Regions from separate parts of the Homo sapiens genome. Here all the other regions are linked to region 1. The links are contacts of gene promoters, found by promoter capture Hi-C in blood cells and fetal thymus (Javierre and others, 2016). All regions are on one chromosome and are shown on one strand. The core of a region is centred on a gene start or on the middle of the fragment in contact, and the rest is flanking DNA. Distances in the headings are between cores, read along the strand shown. Region 1 holds the start of RHOC (ras homolog family member C). Region 2 overlaps LOC107985189 (a long non-coding RNA gene). Region 3 overlaps CTTNBP2NL (CTTNBP2 N-terminal like).

What was found. The method cuts DNA at HindIII sites, captures the fragments that hold promoters and counts their contacts. A CHiCAGO score of 5 or more calls a contact.
Region 2: a contact is called between a fragment that was not itself captured here and the fragment with the promoter of RHOC in region 1, in 2 of 17 cell types (M1 macrophages and M0 macrophages). The highest score is 5.5, in M1 macrophages.
Region 3: a fragment that was not itself captured here is called in contact with the fragment with the promoter of RHOC in region 1 in 11 of 17 cell types (total B cells, neutrophils, naive B cells and 8 more); the score reaches 9.5 in total B cells.

What each region holds. Positions count from the first base shown.
Region 1 is chr1:112,705,736-112,708,435 of GRCh38, forward strand. RHOC (ras homolog family member C) reads right to left here and starts at 1,392. Exons shown (of 6, transcript NM_175744.5): 1 at 1,343-1,392. RefSeq lists a silencer at 1,112-1,831. The HindIII fragment of the contact is 12,151 bases long and covers 1-2,700 here.
Region 2 is chr1:112,983,369-112,986,068 of GRCh38, forward strand. It overlaps LOC107985189 (a long non-coding RNA gene), which reads right to left. Exons shown (of 2, transcript XR_001738193.2): 1 at 1-2,700. Among named protein-coding and RNA genes, the nearest start is that of SLC16A1-AS1, 28 kb to the left of the region's middle. The HindIII fragment of the contact is 2,638 bases long and covers 34-2,671 here.
Region 3 is chr1:112,403,023-112,405,819 of GRCh38, forward strand. The region is part of intron 1 of CTTNBP2NL (CTTNBP2 N-terminal like); the gene reads left to right. Among named protein-coding and RNA genes, the nearest start is that of CTTNBP2NL, 8.2 kb to the left of the region's middle. RefSeq lists an enhancer at 1,453-1,978. The HindIII fragment of the contact is 6,480 bases long and covers 1-2,797 here.

The DNA.
Region 1 (2,700 bases), core at 142-2,641:
GTTTTGTAAAGATGGGCTGGGGTAGCCCCAACCTGGGGTGGGCAGTGTTGATGGAGGGCAATCACTACTGGGGTGAAAGCCAGTCACTTAGGCATGAGTATGCCACTGCTGTCCCCCCAGCAGGGTAATTCAGACGGCACCAGAGTGGTGGGAGGCAGAGGACAGAAACCCGGGGTTGAGGCATGCGTTAAGGGACCTGGAGCCTCCAGCCCAATTAGAAGACTTTCCCTCCAGGCTATGATTGGGCCAGAACAGCAGGCAGCCCAGGCCAGGACACTAGGCCCAAGGCCAAGATGGCATGGACAACTCCCTGTGAGAGGCAGCCCCAGAGGGACTGTCCCACTGACCCCTTAAGAGGGGCAACTGAGCCCCACACAGGGCCTGGAATGGAGCCTGGAACTTCTGGGGCCTTCCCCAAGACAAGACAGTGTGGCTACATCAGACCTCTCTCCAATCGCTCTCTTGAATTCCCAGATGATCCAGAGCGGCCGGTTGACTTTGCCGGCCCACCCTACACCTAGGGAAGGAATCCGTTCTGGAGATACCAAGAGATACTGCATTCTCAACTTTAAAACCAGAGTGAGGGCGGGACTCGGCCTCGGGATCCCAGTCCCAAACCCCAGGATACTCTTTCTTGGTTCGAGTATGAAGAAGGAGGATTCTCAATCTCATTTTCTCTCTCTCTCTCTCTCTCTACACACACACACACACACACACACACACACACACCACACACACACACACACACACACACACACACACACACACACACACACACACACACACACACACACACACACACAGAGTTGGATCCTTCCCCATCTCCCTTATCCTCAACACAAGCGGGCTCCAGGAACCGTCCAGGGCGGCGTCCAGACCCTGCCGAGCAGTGGCAGGCCCCAATGGTCACATCCCGCCCCTATTCCCGCCATACCTCCCTCCTGGCCTGGAGGAATTCCCACCCCATCCCACTCTAGGTCCCCTGCGGCCGCCCACCCTGGGGGCTGGGGCGTCTGAGTTGAAGTTCCCTCGCCCCTCGCCCGGCGGGGCAGGTTCCGGGAAGCTGGGAGGAGAAGGGAAGGGGCTCCGACTCGGACCTCAGGAGGCCAGAGCCCCTGCCGGCAGGTCCGGGCCCCCTCGCTGCAGCCCGGGGAGGGGCCGACGCGGTCCGACCACCGCCCAGCCCGGATGCCGACTCCGCTTGGAGGGAACGGGGTCCACGCCCAGGCCGAAGCCCCTCCTCGCACGGGCCCCGATCTCCGGGCCAGCGAGGAAGGGAAAGTGCTCTCCTGGGGACGAGTTCCCAAGACGCCCCACCGCCCGCAGCCCCGGCCCAGGGTACCTTCCGCTCCGCCGCCTCCAGCTGCGCGGCCGGTGCCGGAGGCTCAGACTGACCCCAGGGCCCCGCCCCGCCCTCCTCCAGCGCCGCGGCGGGGAGGGCGGGCCCGGCAGGGGGAGGGTCGGCCGGGGGCGGCCCTTGGCTCGGCCCGCCCCGGCCCCGCGCAGGGCCGCAGCCACCGGCCCCCTCCGCAGGCCGGGGACTGGGGGCCAGGGGCGTCCACCCCTCCAGGTCGGGGAGAGCCACGGGGAGATTCCTGGACTGCGGAGGAGCCGGGCGAGCGGGGGGAGCACGACCCGGGTGGACTCAGACTCTGCCCAGCCTTCAATCCCCTAGGGGAGGACCGGCGTCGGGAAAGTTAAGAGGTGCTCGGGGTGGGGTCAGGAAGGGCCGCTGCTGCCCTCCTGTGGCCAAGCGGCCACCCGCTCCTGCTGCACCTGGGACCTCGCGGGAAGCGGGACTGGGAAAGGGTATCCGCCGGGAGGTCCCAGGGCCCGGCGCGGGTGTGTTGGTTGGGGGGAGATGTCCACCCTCTTGTTCCTAGGATCGTACAGCCCAACGTCATCCCCCAAACTTGAAGACCTCTCAGAGCCGTTCAGACCCAGACCACCGTTCCTCCTCACAATTCGCTTTCTTCCCTGGGCCTGGAATTTCCAGGAGTCCAATTCCTACCTACTCCTCAAAGGGTGCGCCTAGAAATGCTTCTGGATCCCAGCTGTGAATTCTGTTCCCACTCCTAGGTCTGACTTGGCGCATAGGATATTTACCTACACGCGTATCTCCTTTCCCTGTAAGGGAGCTGAGGAGGTGGGAGTAGAATGAGGACGTCCACCAACATTTCATTGGCTTGTGCTTGGGACACTACACAGCTTAACCCTTTCAATATTCATCACAGATCTCTGGGGAAAATATACCCATCCCCTTTTGCCCATAGAGAAGCTGAGGTTCAGAGAAATCAAGTGGCTTACACAACTGTTTTTGACTTGTGACAGCAAGAATTCACACAGCCGGGCCTGTCTGGCTCCAAACTGGTGGTCTGGCCCTGCTACCTCACGGGCTCCTCCAGCCTGTCCCTTCCCCCGTTGTCTAGCAGAGTGAGTGGCACATAATAGGTTGTCAACAAATATTTGATGAATGAATGAATGTTAGGAGTCATACAGACTTTAAATATCTGAAGTGCAATCCAGACATTTGACAAATGTGAAAACAGGTCCGCAGCAGTTTGGCCCCAGGCCTCTTAACTGACTCAATGAACATTTCTCGAGGGTGAACTGAGAGCTATGTTCGGAAGATCCATTTCTGCCTTCAAACAACTTAGAGTCTAAATGAGGAATGCAATTTCAAGATAGCTAACATTTATT
Region 2 (2,700 bases), core at 103-2,602, 280 kb after region 1:
CAGCTGCTTTTAGCACTTGGCTCTCACTGATGAAGCTTCCCTCTCTGCCACTACACACCACCCTCTTCCTACATGAGAGACCTTTAGGGCTCTTTAGTTCTCATCCTGAAAGCTGTGGGACAGATTATAAATTGATATCTTTTATATCAGTATAGCTCATGCTTGGTTGATGTGCCTGATGGGCTATAGGAGTGATTGACTCAGCTACTATTTTGGTGAGGAAAGAGAGTCTTCCTTAGAAAGAGAATTGTGTGCCTTGCCCTAAAAAGGTTAGGAATGCGGCCTATGGTCCTAATTAAGTGCCCTGTTAAACAGTGTCCCTTGAACAAGTCACTTTCTTCTTCTGCAACTTCTCCAGCTATATAATTAAGCATGTAATCCTGTGTGACTTCATAGTAGGGTTGTGAGGACAGGCTATTCCCACCGTCTGGAGTTGTCTTCCCCTCACTTTTCCATTGCCAAATAAATCGTCCTTATCTTTTGGAGTTAAGTTGAAACATCAATTTCTTGAGATTGTTTCAGATCCTACTTTTCTACTGCCCAAAACCCGTAGTTCCCCAGTCTGTCACTTTATAGCACCTGGCACTTCCCTTTTTGCAACCAATGTCACGCTTATTGTAATAGTTGTTCAATGTCTATCTTCCCAATTAGACTAGAAGTTTCATTAGCATAGAAATCCTATCTTTTGCACCTCGATTCTTAGCACAATCTTGGGCATTGTGCTTTGTACCTATTTGGATGATGAATGAAAGATGAATGATTACATCTCATAATCACTTTGAGATTCCTTTCTGAAAACTCCAATATTGAACTCTTTGTGCCTTTCTAAATATGCTGGTAAAACTGAGAACAGGTTTTTCTATTAGAGTGAAAAGGACTGCTGTTTATTGAATGTTTCCCCCTACCTCGCTACTCCTTACCTTTTCCTATTATGACAATCTTAAATTCTCTCCATGGCAAGCTGTTCCCAACTCCCTAAACAGTCATTTCTAGGAAGACTGCAGGCTGTTCATTTTGTTTTCTTTTTTGAGACAGGGTCTCACTGTGTGGCCCAGGCTGGAGTACAGTGGCGCGATCTCGGCTCACTGCAACCTCCGCCTCCTGGGTTCAAGCGATTCTTCTGCCTCAGCCTCCCGAGGAGCTGGGACTACAGGTGCGCACCACCACGCCCAGCTAATTTTTGTAATTTTAGTAGAGATGGGGTGTCACCATGTTGGCCAGGCTGGTCTCGAACTCCTGACCTTGTAATCTGCCCACCTTGGCCTCCCAACGTGCTGGGATTACAAGTGTGAGCCACCGTGCCCGGCCACAGGCTGTTTGTTTTTAAATGAAACAAAAAATCCAAACTGGCTTTTAGAATTAACTGTTGTCTTTCCTCACATTTTTGTCAATTTAAAGAACTGTTAAGCTCCTGTAAAAAAGATGTTATGTAATCTGTAACTACATTTGAGAATGTTAGTCAACTTCAAATAAATTCTTACCAAAATACCTTTTTCTTGTTAACACTAATTGTTGCTGAAATATTAACCTGAACTTGCATATCATTCTATCTGGCAACTTTTCAGAATAGATTCATACCAGCTTCACATGCCATTTATTAATTCATCAATTAATTGATTCAGTAATTATTAGTGAACACTAAATGTCAGGCACTTTTCTAGATGTTTGGGAATATCAGTAAATAAAACAGATTCTTGCCCTCAAGGAAATATTTATAGAACTGCTGTTGTATAAACAGTACTCATCAAATATTCCACTGCTCCCCTGCTTTTCCCAGCATCCCTTACAGTTAGGTTTGGATCATGTGATTACAGCAAGCTAATGGCCTATCAAGGAAATGACATGTATCATTTTTAGGCTGAGGAAGGTATAAGCTAATGTGCTCCCCAACCCTGTTATTACCTGTCACACAACCCCAGAGGTTAATATTCCACATGGTTCAGCCACAAGATATAATTTGAGTCATTTTGGTTACTGAGTCTCATAGTCCGTTTGTGCTGCTATAGCAACATACCTAAGACTAGATAATTTACAAATAATAGGAATTCGTTTCTCACAGTTCTGGAGTCTGCAAAGTCCAATATCAAGCCACTAGTAGATAATGCCTTGTTGCTGCATTTTTCAGAGGGTCTGAAATCTGTGTCCTTACATGGAGGAAGAGACAGAAGGGGCAAACCCACCCCCTCAAGTCCTCTTCTAAAGCACTGTGAGAGTGGAGCCCTCAGGGCCTACCCTCTGAAGGCCCTACCTCTTAAAGAGTGTTTCATTGTAGATTAAATTTCAATATGAGTTTTGGAGGAGACACAAACTGTAGAATTCCACCCCTGGCCCCCCAAAATATATGTCCTTCTTACTTACAAAATATAATCATTCCATCCCAATAACATCAAAAGTCTTAACTTGTTCCAGCATCAACTTTAGAGTCTGACTCTGAAGTCTCATCTAAATATCATCTTCATAACATTTGGATGTGACTCAAGGTACAATTCATCATGAGGCAAATTCCTCTCCCGTTGTGAGCCTGTGAAATCAAGTTATGTGCTTCCAAAATACAATGGTGTACAGGCATACGACAGACATTCCCATTCTAAAAGGGAGCAATAGGCAAGAAGAAATGGGTAACAGGTCTCAAGTAAGTCCAAAATCCAACAAGGCAAACTTTAAATCTTGAAGCTTCAGAAAAACAATCTTTGACTCTAT
Region 3 (2,797 bases), core at 211-2,710, 300 kb before region 1:
GGGATTATTTCCCCTCTTACCTCCCTAAATGAAAATCCGTCATTTACTGTAAGTAAATTCTTAAATAACTAAGTAAATTCTTTTTAATGTCTCTTTTGTCAGTCTCTTCCATTCTTATTGCTACCATCCTAGTTCATACATTTTTGCCTCATACCTATGCTGTTAAATTTTTTTCCCGACTACTCTTTCTGTTTCCATTTTCTCTTCAGTCAAGTCAGCCCTGTACTGTAAGCATTAACTTTCCTAAAACTATGCTTTTGTTATGATTTTCACCAGGTTAAAAATGTTGAGTGGCTTCCCATTTTCTAAAAGGTAAAGTCCAGTTGTGTTGGCTGAGATTGAAAGTGCTGTACATTTCTTTCCAACCAGCATTTTTTCAGTATCTGAACCAGACACTGCTAGTGCTAAGTGTGATCAAGTTGAATAGACAGAGTAGTTGTTCAGATGAGTTCAGAGTCTTGTGAGACAGAAGACAGATATGTAAACAGATGAATTGATGTAATAGAATGTGATAACTGCTCTTGAATTACGAATGTAGATACATATCCATTATGCATTTAATTTAATGTAAAAAAATAGCTGTGATATTTTCAGGAAACCCATTTCTCAGTCATCACAAGTTAAAGTTGTGACTTGATTAAAACCTGTTAAAATTCAGTGGAAGCAAAGGTATGCGTTTACCTGTATGCTAAAGGCACAAAAAACTAATCTAAGCAGAAGGCTGGCCTTTTCTTTTCCCAAGTATTGTGCAGATACAATTGGCTTGAACATGTCTCTAAACTGACTTTCCCAGGAACTGGCCAGGCCATCTCTTTCTTTTTGGTGCAGATCAACCTGCCAGAAGTCAGAAGTAAACTTGTTTTGGTTTGTAAATTAGACACGTGAATGATAGACAATGATGACCCATTGGAAAAGGAAAACTTCATTATCCTTGCAGATGAAACCAAAAAGTATGCTCTTTAAGGATGAGAAATGAGAAGCTGACCAGTCACTAACTCATTTAAACCATGCAGCCTCCTGTTACAGTATGTATTGTTATGTCCATTTTATAGCTAAAAAACTGAAGTTCAAAGGTTAAATGGATGAAAGAGCAAGTGGCAGAGCCAGGATGCAAACTCAGCTCTGTCAGATTCCAAAATCCATGTGCTTTCCACTATAACATACTGTCTCCCAGCAGAATTACTGTCCCTGAAGAACCATAGAACAACAATTGCCAGGCTTGTTGTTGGAAATATTCAACTGATACTCAATTGTTAAATTTTTTTTAAGTCAGTTATCTGTCTTAGAAGACAAAACAACATCACGAGTTTTATTTCTGCTAGAGGATTATTTGAAGTTTTTTTTGCAGTTCAGATAAAGTCAGGTTATGGGCATCGCTAAAACACAGATTCCTTAACTGTTTGATGGTTAATCCTTCATACCATACTCTGGAGTTTCTCCCCAGTGTGGAATCTTAGTGGAATCAATGACGTCATCATCCTACATTAGCATTTGAAGGGTTTGCATTCCAGGCTGCCTCTAGAATTGTGGCCCATGAATCATCTTACTGAAAATAATCAATCTACATGTTATTGTTCCCTTGTGGTATTTTACAAGTTATGGTGGCATTATTTCAGAAAAGCAAAAATTTAGGGGACTGATGGACAGATAGACAATAGAGACGGTCAGATACATATTTGATTGAAATCATGTTACAATTTCATTTAAATGAAATAAAGCCATCTAACAAATTATATAGAAATGATTCAGCCGGGTGCAGTGGCTCACGCCTGTAATTCCAGCACTTTGGGAGGCCGAGGTGGGCGGGTCACTTGAGGTCAGGAGTGCCAGACCAGCTTGACCAAAATGGAGGAACCCCGTCTCTACTAAAAATACAAAATTAGCCAGGCATGGTGGCACAAGCCTGTAATCCCAGCTACTTGGGAGTCTGAGGCAGGGGAATCTCTTGAACCAGGAGGCGGAGGTTGCGGTGAGGCCGAGGTTGCGGTGAGCCGAGGTTGCGCCATTGCACTCCAGGCTGGGCAACAAGAGCAAAACTCCATCTCAAAAAAAACAAACAAAAAAAATGTAATGTTTCAGTTTCCTGGTAATAATATTCTGATGTTAAAAGACATATCTTTTTTAAAATGTTCAATGATAAAAAATTTATTAATATAAAAGTTGTTATTCATTTTCATTAACATCCATTCCAGTAGCTTAACTAATGTAGTTCTAGTTTGGCCTTGTCTCAGATGAGAATACCTGAGATGGTGTAAACAGATATCCAGGTAGACAGACCTTTTGTTCTTGTTTTGAGATAGAGTCTTGCTCTGTCTCCCAGGCTGTAGTGCAGTGGTGCAATCTCAGCTCACTGCAACCTCCACCTCCTGGGTTCAAGCGATTCTCTTTCCTCAGCCACCTGAGAAGCTGGGATCACAGGTGTGCGCCACCATGCCCGGCTAATTTTTGTATTTTTAGTAGAGATGGGGTTTCACCATGTTGGCCAGGCTGGTCTTGAACTCTTTATCTCAGGTGATCTGCCTGCCTCGGCATTCCAAAGTGCTGGGATTACATGCGTGAGCCGCTGCACCCAGCCCAGACCTGTTTTTAATAGCTTTGCACTAATGTTCTCATTTGAGGGAAGAGATATCTGAATGTTTGTTTATGGGCATAAGGCTACTTCCTTCTTTTCTTCAATATACATATAAATCTTGCTGACATCATATATGAGAGACAGAGAAAGAGATGTGTACACACACACACTTACACATTCACACATTCACACTCACAGAGAGATATAGCAGAGTTGCATGAGTCT